Linked DNA regions of Homo sapiens: all the other regions are linked to region 2. The links are contacts of gene promoters, found by promoter capture Hi-C in human tissues and cell types (Jung and others, 2019). All regions are on one chromosome and are shown on one strand. Each heading gives the region's core, a stretch centred on a gene start or on the middle of the fragment in contact. The rest is flanking DNA. Distances are from core to core; before and after follow the strand shown. Region 1 has its middle 16 kb from the start of CRY2. Region 2 holds the start of CD82 (CD82 molecule). Region 3 has its middle 3.6 kb from the start of TTC17.

Evidence for each region. The method cuts DNA at HindIII sites, captures the fragments that hold promoters and counts their contacts. A contact is called where the count stands out against the background at its distance.
Region 1: a contact is called between a fragment that was not itself captured here and the fragment with the promoter of CD82 in region 2, in 1 of the 25 tissues and cell types used here (mesenchymal stem cells).
Region 3: a contact is called between a fragment that was not itself captured here and the fragment with the promoter of CD82 in region 2, in 1 of the 25 tissues and cell types used here (aorta).

The regions. Positions count from the first base shown.
Region 1 is chr11:45,829,843-45,833,777 of GRCh38, forward strand. No RefSeq gene overlaps it. Among named protein-coding and RNA genes, the nearest start is that of CRY2, 16 kb to the right of the region's middle. The HindIII fragment of the contact is 5,925 bases long and covers 1-3,935 here.
Region 2 is chr11:44,563,379-44,567,284 of GRCh38, forward strand. CD82 (CD82 molecule) reads left to right here and starts at 2,285. Exons shown (of 10, transcript NM_002231.4): 1 at 2,285-2,358. RefSeq lists a silencer at 1,784-2,383 and enhancers at 2,298-2,798, 3,304-3,373. The HindIII fragment of the contact is 10,159 bases long and covers 1-3,906 here.
Region 3 is chr11:43,353,353-43,357,336 of GRCh38, forward strand. No RefSeq gene overlaps it. Among named protein-coding and RNA genes, the nearest start is that of TTC17, 3.6 kb to the right of the region's middle. The HindIII fragment of the contact is 5,525 bases long and covers 1-3,984 here.

The sequences.
Region 1 (3,935 bases), core at 921-3,420, 1.3 Mb after region 2:
TCTCTACTAAAAATACAAAAATTAGCCGGGCATGGTGGCAGGCGAGCAGTGAGCTTGCAATCTGAGATCGTGCCACTGCACTCCAGCCTGGGTGACAAGAGTGAAACTCTGTCTCAAAAAAAAAAAGAAGAAAAAATAAAAAAATGAGTACTAACCATTTTGGCCCACAACAGTTTGGTGAGAGCCTTGGGGAATTCTTTGATACCTCAGGATCTGCCAAGCTTGGCTGTATGTTGAACCAGCTTGCCAGAGTCACCATGGGCCATGCATCCAGCCTGCTGAACCCCCTTCCTCTAATGGCGTCTTCACTTGCTCTTCCCAGGGAAGGCCAATGCACTTTCTATAAGGTGCCCCGAGTGATTAGAGCCTGCTAGAAAAAGTTGTCTTTGGTGTTGAACAGTTCTCCTTCCTCCTCCCAGGTGAGGCGGGCTCTGCCTCTGCTGTGTTTCTTTGCCTGGCTGGCTGGGATGCTTTACACTATGGTGGGGGCCCAATAATGGTAGCTTTTATAGGCCTGGGGTTCTTGGCATCAGTTTTGCCTCTTTTCGCTTTTTATCTTTTGGTGCCTTTATCAGTTTAGACTCCAGAAAGCTCAACTTGGAGGGCATAAACCAGGAGTCAGCAAACTTTTTCTGTAAAAGGGTAGATAGTAGCTCCTTTTGATTCTGTGAGCCGTGCAACTTTATAAGTCGCAACTCTGTCTGTGAAGCTCAAAGCCGTGGATCAGATGTAAACAAATGAGCAGGGCTGTGTTCTAATACAATTTCACTTACAAAACAGGTGATGATGGATGAACCTTGTAAGCATTATGCTGAATGAAGAAGGCAGGTTCAAAAGACCACATATTGTCTGATTCCATTTATAGGAAATGTCCAGAATTGGCAAATCTCTATAGACAGAAAATAGATCCCTGGCTGCCTAGAGCTGGGGGTGTGAGGTGAGGGAAAATCTTCTAAAATTAGATGGTGGTGGTGGTTGCACAACTCTGTGACTAGAATAAAAAGCATTGAATTGTACACTTAACTGGGTGCATTTTTTGATATGTAAATGATATCTCAATAAAGCTGTTTAAAAAGAAGAGTACACCGATGTTCATAGCAGCCCTATTCACGACAGCCAAAAGGTGGAAACAAGTATCTGTCAATGGATGAATGGATAAACAAAACGTGATGTAGACCTACAATGGAATATTATTCAGCATAGAGCAGAATGAAGTACTGATACATGCTGCAGCATGGATGATCCTTGAAAATATGGGCTAAAGTGAAAGAGGCCAGACATATGAGGTTCCCAGAATAAGCAAATTGATAGAGACAAAAATAGAATAGAGGTAACTGAGATCTTGGGGCAGGGGGAATGGGGAGTTATTGTTTCATGGGTACAGAGTTTCTATTTGGGATAATGTACAAGTTATGGAAATGGATAGTGGTGATTGTTGAACAACACTGAATGTACATAATGCCTCTGCATTGTATACTTAAAAATGGTCAGGCCAGGTGCGGTGGCTCACACCTGTAATCCCAACACTTTGGGATGCTGAGATCAGAGGATTGCTTGAGCCCAGGAGTTCGAGACCAGCCTGAGCAACACAGCAAAGCCCCATCTCTCCAAAAGGAAAAAAAAAATACAAAAATTAACCAGGCATGGTGGCACACACTTGTGGTCCCAGCTACACAGCTGGGACCCAGCTACACTACTGTTACAACAGGAGGCTGAGGCAGGAGGATGGCTTGGGCCCAAGAAGTCGAGGCTGCAGTGAGCCATGATCACACTGCTGTACTCCAGCCTGTGTGACAGAGCAAGACCCTGTCAAAAAAAAAAAAAAGATTAAAATGGTAAATTTTATGCTATGTGTATATTTTACCACAATTTTTAAAAACTGAAGAAAATGAAACAGGATGGAGGTGAGGCAAGGACAGAACATCAGGGTGGCTGGTGCACACAGAAAGCAAAGTGGAGCATGAGGAGGAAACTAACAAGGTGGATGGAGGCAGCTTATGCAGGGCCGCATGGATAGAAAGGAACGGGCAGATTCCAAAAAGATCCAGACCAGGGAGCCAGGACCAGGACACTGCAAGGATCCTCAAAGGAGGAGGCCAGTAGAAGAGGACAAAAATGACCAGCAGCATCCCTAGGAACAGGCTCTGCTCTCCCCACCACACCACCCCTACTGTGCCTACCTGCAGTCAAGGCTGTCCCCCACACTGTCTTGTCCAGAGCATGTGAACAGTCCTACCCACCCACCCACACAGACACCCCAGCACCCAGCAGGGCCTGCACACAGTGAGCACTAAGAAATGTTTGTTTCTTAAACAACAAGAACAAAAAGAGCAAATGAGCACATCACACTCTATCGTGTAATTGTGCTGGGATTACTTAAGATTTTTCTTTTTAAATTATTATTATTATTATTATTATTTAATTTTGAGACGGAGTTTCACTGTTGTTGCCCAGGCTGGAGGGCAATGGCACAATCTCAGCTCACAACAACCTCCACCTCCCGGGTTCAAGTGATTCTCTTGCCTCAGCCTCCCTAGTAGCTGGGATTACAGGCATGTGCCACCACATCCAGCTAATTTTGTATTTTTAGTAGAGACGGGGTTTCACCATGTTGATCAGTCTGGTCTGGAACTCCTGACCTCAGGTGATCCACCCACCTCGGCATCCCAAAGTGCTGAGATTACAGGCATGAGCCACCACATCCAGCCAAGATTTTTATTTTCTGATTGGCTTTTCTGTGGACTTGCCAACTTGTTTAAAATGAACTTACACTACTTTTACAACTGGAAAAACAAATTCCATTACACAAATAAACAGAAACCCAGATGAAACTGTTGGACCTACCCTCTTTGGGATTTTTGGGCCCATTTCTGCTCAGAGCCTACCCCCGCCTTCTCTGCTCATTTGGGATCTGCTGGTTTGACTTGGCCCCTTAACCCTTGGCCCATCCTGTTCCTCCATTTCCATCCCCCACCACATCAGGTCCTCCTGTCTGGGTCAGATTTTTTGGATCAACCCACATGATCGCTCCCTCAATCTCCAAGGCATTTACCTCCAGCTCCGTAGTTCTCAACTAGGGGCGATTTGGCACTGTCTGGAGACATGTGGCTGTTACAGCTGGAGAGTTGCTATGGAATCTGGTGGGTGGGGGCCAGGAATGCTGCTAAACATCCTACAGTGCTCAGGACAGCCACCACAGCAAAGGACCGTCTGGTCCAAAATAACAAGATTGAGAAAAACATACCTGAGCCAGTAACGATAATAACGTGATCATCCTGACCGTCATTCAACAAGAAGCTTCTATGTGCAAGGCACTGTGCGGTGTGCATTACACAATTTAGCAATCAGAATCCTTGCAACAGCCTTCAGAGGAAGGTAAGATTACTATCTCCATTTTATAGATAAGGAAACTGCAGCTCAGAGAAGGTAAGTAACTTGTCCAAGGCCACACAGCAAATATCCGAGCTGGAATTTGAATCCAGGTCTATCTGACTCCAAATCCCATTAAAAGCCCCTAAGGGGCCCTCAAACACACACACTCCTCTTTCTTCCCTTGAGCTTTAAGAATGGTTACTGTTTTCTTGAGCAACAACCTGTAAAATTTCTGTTTTGAAATTAAACAAGGTTACGTGCCCCTGTTCTGTTGGTTGGAGACCCTCCTCTTGGTTTTGCTTTCTTGTGTTTGCTTTATTTATTTATTTATTTATTTACTTATTTATTTATTTGGGCAGGGTCTTGTTCTGTCACCCAGGTTGGAGTGCAGTGGCACCATCATACCTCGTTACAGCCTCAAACTCCTGGCCTCAAGTGATCCTCCCGCCTTAGCCTCCCAAAGTGCTAGGATTACAGGCACAAGCCACCACACCCAGCCTGTTTGTACTTTATTAATATAGAGTCCACTATGGAGGCAGCACCTTGTCTCTCAAGGAGAAACT
Region 2 (3,906 bases), core at 1,035-3,534:
TTCATTTGGCCCCAAACAAAGAGCTTTGAACCCCTGTACACCCTGCATTCCACAGGATGGGCCGGGGTTCAAATGTTCCTCACAGATAAGGAATGAATCTCCAGGTTGGTCATTCCCGGATTCCTTAGCTCAAAACTCCAAACACACATTGGGGTGCATCTGCCATACAGGACCATTCTCAGGGTATGCTTAAGTCAAGTTATTGCTGTCAGGAGCATCTGCCATACACCATCACAAACACCCCCAGCTCGGAGGGAGCGGGGTGTGGAGTAGGGTGGAATAGGAGGAATTTTATGCCCATTTTGCATGGGCTGGGTAGGGTAGGGATCTGAAACCCAGCCCAAGACAGAATGGCACAGTGGTTCTCAAAGTGTGGTCCCCGGACCAGCATCCACATCATCTAGGAGCTTGTTAGGATCTTAACCACTTGCAGGATAGAGGGTGTCTCTCTGCGGGTATGACACACTGCTGGGTTTAAAGGATTCTCCAGCCTCACTTTTCTGACTTGGTGTGGGAATGCTATGAAGGAGACTTTTTGCTGAAAAGAGAACATTTTCTGAGCATGTACGGCATTCAAGCGGTGGGCCAAATACTTTATGAATGCTGTCACATGTAATCTTCAACAGCTACCATCAAGATCGGTATGATTGTTATGGCTCATTTTATTATTATTCCCTGTTTAAGGGCTCATCCCAGAGGTTAAGTATCTTGCCTTGTCCTGGGTTTAAAACGCAACCAGGAAGCTACCTAGGTCTGTGTGATTCTCAGACCACCCTGACTTCTTTACAGTTTGCTCAACAGTGGTTCATGCTTGAATGTGATTCAGAATCACCTGGAGGCCTTATTAAAACCAATTGTCCCACAGTTTTCCATTCAGTAAGTTGGGATGGGGCTTCAAAATACGCACTCCTAACAAGTTCCCAGATGATGTTGCTCCTGGTTCAAGGACCACGCTGTGAGAACTACAGTGCTGGGCTGGGATCCAGCTCCCGCCCTTACTCCACTCGTACAAAGCGCTCATAATCATACCCTCCCACAACGGTGTGTTGTGAGAGGACATTGTGATAATGGAAGTGAAAGAGCTTTGTCAGCTGCACAGGTGAATGCCCCTGGTCATTAACCAGGTAATCTGCCTGAGGCTAGTCCTCTGGAGCCTGGGAGGGCAGAGGGCTGGGACGCAGGGTGGGCACCGCAGCCACCTAGAGAGCTCTTGCAGCCCACCTCAATTTTGGGCCACTTTTTCTTCAGGGAGAAAGCCAGCTTTGAGGGCTTAGGCCCACAGCCCCTCCTGCCACTATTCTCATCAACCCACACCTCCTCCCTCACCTCAGGCAGCTGCTGGGCACTGCCCCAGCACTGGTTGTTCTGGGCTACTTCCCCAGGGGCCAGTCCAGGCAAGCTGGGGCAGCTCAAGCCTGTGACTCAGGACCTGAGGCTGGATCCCGCTCACGCCCGCCTCCATGAGATTCAGAGCCCTCGACTTCCCTTCTCTGAGCCTTAAACTGCGCATTAGTAAAATAGGCGCAACGAGAGTACCCATGAGTTGTGGGAATTCAAGGGCTAGAACTGTATTCAGCGCTTGGCATAGAGCCTGGCCCCTGGCAAGGATTCAATCAATGGTAGTCAGTATTTTCAAAAAGTTCCTGGGCCCAGGCCGCCTCCTGATAGAGGCCCCGACTTAGGACACAAACCGCTCCCACGCCGTTCCCCGGCGGCACCCGGATACACCCGCCCTGGAATGCCAGCGTGGGGGCCCCAGGGCTACCCGCCCGAGATGAGAGGGGCAGGGCAGGGCAGGATTAGGAAGGCGCTGAGCCCAGGCTGGTGCGGGGAGGGGCGTGGCCTCACCCTACTAGGGCCGGGGGATGGGGTGGGCTCGAAGGAGAAAGTGAAGGAGGCGGGGGCGCTGGGAGGGCCCGGGAGGAGACCGGGAGGACGAGGTAGGCGGGAGCTGGGCGGGACCGTTAGGCAGCGCCGTGAGTGGACAGGGCTGGAGCGGGGCGGGCTTAATCCCCAGTGTAACCTGGGGGCGGGGCTGCCGGGATAGAGGAGAGACTCCGTAGCGGGGCGGGGCCTCAGCTCCAGCTGGGCCCGGGGGCGAGGCTGGTTGGGGTACGGCCATAGTGGGCGGGGCCTGGCCGGCGGGAGCGCACCGCCTTCCCAAAGGGCTCGGGGGCGGGGCCGGCGGAGGGGGCGTGTCTTCTGGGGGCGGGGCCTGCCGAGTCCGCGGCGTTCCCCGGCTGCAGCCGGGAGGGGGCCGAGGAGTGACTGAGCCCCGGGCTGTGCAGTCCGACGCCGACTGAGGCACGAGCGGGTGACGCTGGGCCTGCAGCGCGGAGCAGAAAGCAGAACCCGCAGGTGAGCAAGGGGGCAGCGGGCCGGGGTAGCCTGCCGGACAACCATAGGCAAAGTTAGTTTTAGCCCCCGCTTCTGCGGTCCGGCTCGGACAACTTTCCTCGGAACTAGTGACAGGTCGGGGCAGCTGGTGGGTGAAAAGGAGCTTTAGCCACCAGTCCTGAACCCCCAGTTCTCACACTCGGCCGTGCACAGCTGCGTGATCCTGGGTCCGTCCCTCTACCTGGCTCTGGACCTCCCGGGTTCCAGCAGGAGGAAGTGAACCAGGTGAATTCCACGCTCCCGTTGCCCTTTCTCACTTAAAACGCCGGAAGGTGAGAGCTGGCAGGTGAGAGCAGGCTGCAGGTCGCCACAGGTGTTCCCATCGCGTTGCCCTCTGCAGTTTCTCTCCCTGCAAAATGGGACTGAGAGAAGCGAATTGCTTTAAAGAGTGCACTGTTTCCTCGGTTGGGGCTCGAACCCACCAACCCTGGGGAAGAGGAGGCCAAAGCAGGGAGGTTCCATTTCCCGCCTCACCTGCTTCCCACCAATTCTAACAGTTCAACTGAGCCGGACCCCCTAAGACTTCAAGTTGGAAACTCAGTGGGGCTTTTCCAGGTGAGCTGGCCTGAGCAGGAGGTTGGAAACTGGGGAACAGTTCTTACACTGGTGAGTGGGGAAGAGAAGGGAAAACCCCACCAATCCTTGGGCCCAGGGTCAAGCCCAGGGCCCCAGGGGCCCTTGAAGCATACCCGGGGTTAATTTCTTGGCTGACGGGTTCTGTTCCTGGAGGTGGTGGGTGCTCTGTGCTGGGCCCCAGTAGCGGGGCAGCATAGTTCTGTGGTCAAGGCTTGGGCTTTGGGATCAAACTGATTTGGATTCCATTCCCCCTCCAAACTTCAGTTTCCTCACCTGTAAAATGGGGATAATGACAATATCCAATAGCAGGAGCAAGCACTAAATAGAATAATGTGTATACACTACTTAGCAAGGTGCCAGGAAACCAGTGAGACCTCCCTCTGTGACAGCTGCTTTGATGCGGGTGGGCAGGTGATGGGCTTGCTTCCTATGGGGAATGAGCCTTTTTTTTTTCTTGGAGAGATGGGGTTGGCTACAGCCCCTCCTGACCTTGTGAAAGCCAGAAATTGCCACCTGCCACCAACATCACTCTATTTGAGGGATGAGGACTGTGTCATCTGGAACAAAGAGTGGCTGAGTTTTCTGTAATGTTGCTTGAGGTTGGTAAGTGTTGAGTTAAATAAGTCTAAAAATGTTTACTGAGCACCTACTATATGCTAGAGAGAGCTAGAGGATACAGAGGTGAACTAGCCAGGCCTGAGTTGCTGACAATGAGGGCTCCCCCATCCCTACCATGTCCCTGTAGAGAGGATCAGTCACACCCAGGGCTTATAACCAGATGAGATTTCATGGGTCTGTTCTGCCCTGGTGGCTGGAATCCAGCTATACCATTGCACACTTGGCTTGGGATGGGGGCGAGGGGCAATGTGGGCACCCGATATCTAAGCAGGGTTGGACACTGAAGGACGCTGAAGGTGCTGCATTATATTGGCT
Region 3 (3,984 bases), core at 888-3,387, 1.2 Mb before region 2:
CTGCTTCCAACCAACTCAAAATTACTCTTAAAGACTTAATTATGGCCAGGCGCAGTGGCTCACCCCCTGTAGTCCCAGCACTTTGGGAGGCCGAGGTGGGTGGATCACAAGGTCAAGAGATCGAGACCATCCTGACCAACATGGTGAAACCCCGTCTCTACTAAAAATACAAAATTTAGCCGGGCGTGGTGGCGTACACTTGTAGTCCCAGCTACTAGGGAGGCTGAGGTAGAATTGCTTGAATCTGGGAGGCGGAGGTTGCAGTGAGCCGAGATTGTGCCACTGCACTCCAGCCTGCCAATAAAGCAAGACTCCAGCTCAAAAAAAAAAAAAAAGAATTATATATAGTAGGATGCCAATAATTCCTTCCATTCCTACTCAAACATGCTGTTTCTCCTATCAAGATAAATCTGTGTCCATCCACACTTGAATTTGGGCTAAGCTTGTTACTTTCCTTAACCAGGAGAATGCAGAATGATGCTTTACCACTTCTGGGGCCTGACCCTCTGAAAGCCTGGCAGCTTCCTTTTATTCTTTCAGCACCCTGAGCCACCCTGTAAGAAGTCTATGTAACTCCTTGTCTAAGAGAGGCCCAGCTACCCCCAGCCATTTCAACCACTCCAAGTAAAGCACCAGACATGGTGGAGCCAGTTTGGAACATTTCAGCCTCAGCTGAGCTCCTAGCTGAATGCAGCCTTAAGAGTGACCCCAGCCAACACCAGGAGTAGCAGAAGAACCACCCAGCTGAGTCCAACAAACTGAAAAATAATAAATCATGTTTTAAGGCTTAAAATTTAAACCTCTAAGACTTACATTGGTTTTATTACAAAGCAAAAGATAACAGAATGTAAGCCAGAGTGTTACCCTCCTCCCTAGGGGTATTTATATCTTAAATATTTTCTCTAAGGAATAGGCAGTATGTAAATCCTTTGCAATTTTCAGGTAAGGTGGCCCAAGGGAGGACGTTAATCCAGAAAGATCATTCATTCTATCAACAGAATGAATTCTAATTCATAACTTCAAGAATTCTATGATTTATAGTAATAGTAAATAAAAGACCTATTTGCTAAAATATGTTGAAAGACTAAATTACATGCAGTTAGGGACTTGCCTATCATTCGTTGAACTAACAATTGAATCACAATTTGAGATATCAGCAATTTTGTCAACTGCCATCCTGTATTTCTATAAATTTCATCGAAGAGGAAAAGTATAATGAAAAAAGAAACATCAGATCTTAGAACAACAGAATAAAAGAACGGTGACAAGTGATCTGGATGTAGAAAATTAGTAGGAACAATTTTATTTAAGTTTTTTGTTTTATTCACACAAAATGGGAATGCTACATTTGGGGGAGCTAAAAAACTGAGTCAACAAACTATTTTGCACAGAAGTTCCAAGGAAGATAAAAATGTTAGTATAGGAAATGCTTCCTGCCCTCAGTTGCTAGTGTAGGTAATTATAGAATTGCAAGATGACAGGTCCCTGGATGGCCTTGGCCATGCCAGCTCTTCCCCCTCTTGCTTGCAATTTTCAGGCAGAATGTACTGAGAATGCAACATCCTGAGATAAGGAGGAAGCTTCCAGAACAACCTGGGCTGCGTCCTCATTTTTCCTAAAACAGGATGTTCTGCAACACTTGTACTCAGCAATCTCAGTTACACCCAGGGTATAAAACCCAAAGTGTTTTTGGAGTCCCTCATCTGTGCTGCAACATGGGGTATGTGCAGATGAGGCTCCATCTGCCCTAAGCAGCTTTCCTGAGCCATGGGATCAGCTAACCATGGATCCTCCATTTCTGTGTATCTTTGCTGCCTATTTGTAAAAAATTTGCTTTGCCTGACTTACTGTTTGAGTGTTCTGCCTCACCAGATTAGAACTAAGAACTATTGCAAGAACCACTCAAGAGTTTGGCTGTTCAAAGTTTATAAAATAATATCACAAAGCAGCATAGTATTGTCATATTACTGACAGAATTCAGAGGTGGCAAACAAGTTGACAGACATTTTTGCAGGCTAGGATTTCAACTGTATCTTAAATAGATTTGAGAAAGCAGCATGAGGAAAGGATTTTAGGCAGGGAACAGGAGCAAAAGTATGTCTAAATTAGTCTGTGATACTTAAAACAGTTCAGTGAAAGACTAGAAGAATGGTACTTGGCAGTCAAGATCTGTGGTAGGCAAAATTCTAAGATGATACCCAATGGTCCTTGCCCGCATAAAATCTCCCCTACGTATATTAAAACATCATGTTGTACACTAAATATATACAATTTTGTCCATTTCACCTTAATAGAGTAGAAAAGGGGGAAATTTCCTAACTTGACTATGTGGGTAAAACATGAATACGATATCACTCCTGTGATCATAGGTTTGGATGTGGTTAGGGCCGCCAAAACTCATGTTGAAATTTGGTACCCAATGTGGCAGTGTTGGGAGATGGGGCCTAGTGGAAGGTTTCTGGGTCATGGGGGTGGATCTGTCATGAACAGATTAATGCCCTCACGGTGGTGGGGGGGGAGGTGAGTTCTTGCTCTCTCAGGAATGAATTAGTTCTCGAGTGTGGGTTGTTAAAAGAGTTTGGCTTTCTTGATTTGTCTCTCTTGCTGCTTCTCTCAACATGTGATCTCTATGCACACCCACTCCCCTTCTGCTTTCCTCCCTAAGTGGAAGCAGCGTGAGGCCCTTACCAGATGCGGCTGCCCAATCTTGGACTTTTCAGCCACCAGAATCATAAGCCAATTAAACCTCTTTTCTTTATGAATTGCCCAGCTTTAGGTATTCTGTTATAACAACACAAAATGGACTAAGATAATGTTATATGGCAAACGAAATTTTTGCAGATGGCATTAAAGTTACTAATCAGTTGAATAAAAAGGGATATTATTCAGATAGACCTTATCAACTCACATGAGCCCTTTAAGTCTAGGCTTAGAGATAGAGGAATTCAAGAGATTTCAGCAGTGGAAATATTCTGCTTGCCTTCAAGGAATAACTGCCATTGTGAGAGCCACATGGCAGAAAACTGTGGGTAGCCTCAATGTTAATGGCCACAATCAGCAGCCAGTAAGAAAATGGAGCCCTCAGTCCTACATTGGCAATAAATTGAATTCTGCCAAGGACTTGAAGAATGAGCTTGACTGAGGAACCCCAAGCCTCAGATGAGATTGCAGCCTTGATATGAGCCTTGTGACACTGAGCAGAGAACTCAGTCACACCACAGCAGAAGACTTTTGCCCCAAGGAAACTGTCAGATAATGTGTTAAGCTAAGTTTGTGGCAATTGTTACACAGCATTAGAAAACTAATACAGGATCCCAAAAGATAAGAGTTATCATCTACAGAAAATAGGTGGTATAATAAAGCTATAGAAGCTATAATTCCACCCCTTTAGAGGTTAACTTGTGAAGGTCAAAGAAATTGCTGATAGCAAAATATGTGATGCTGGGGCCTTTCTCAAATTCCTCACTAACATTCATTCATTCTCAGGCTCTCAGATCTAGAGTCAGGTGGATCTGAGTCCAAACCTGAGCTCTACCACTTAGCAATATGATCTTGGCCAACTTACTTAACTAGCCAGAGCTTGGTAAGTTGTGACGATTAATAGGAACTATGCATGTACAGGACCCAGTACGTATTAAACACTCAAGAAATGTTAGATGATGATGATGTCAGCTTTATACACAAGAAATAGGGTTGACCTCTATGCCCCAAAAATAAGATGCTGAGACAAAAGGGATTCCATCATTTGCCACTTCTCTATTTTAAAATTCTGAAACACTCCCTATTGCCTATGTCTAAACTCCAAGAAACTCTTAAAACATGCCACTGACTTCACCTTTTCGTTTCTTGAGACGGATTCTCGCTCTGTCACTTAGGCTGGAGTGCAGTGGTGTGATCTCGGCTCACTGCAATCCCCGCCTCCCGTGTTCAAGCAATTCTCTGCCTCAGCCTCCCAAGTAGCTGGAATTACAGGTGCCCGCCACC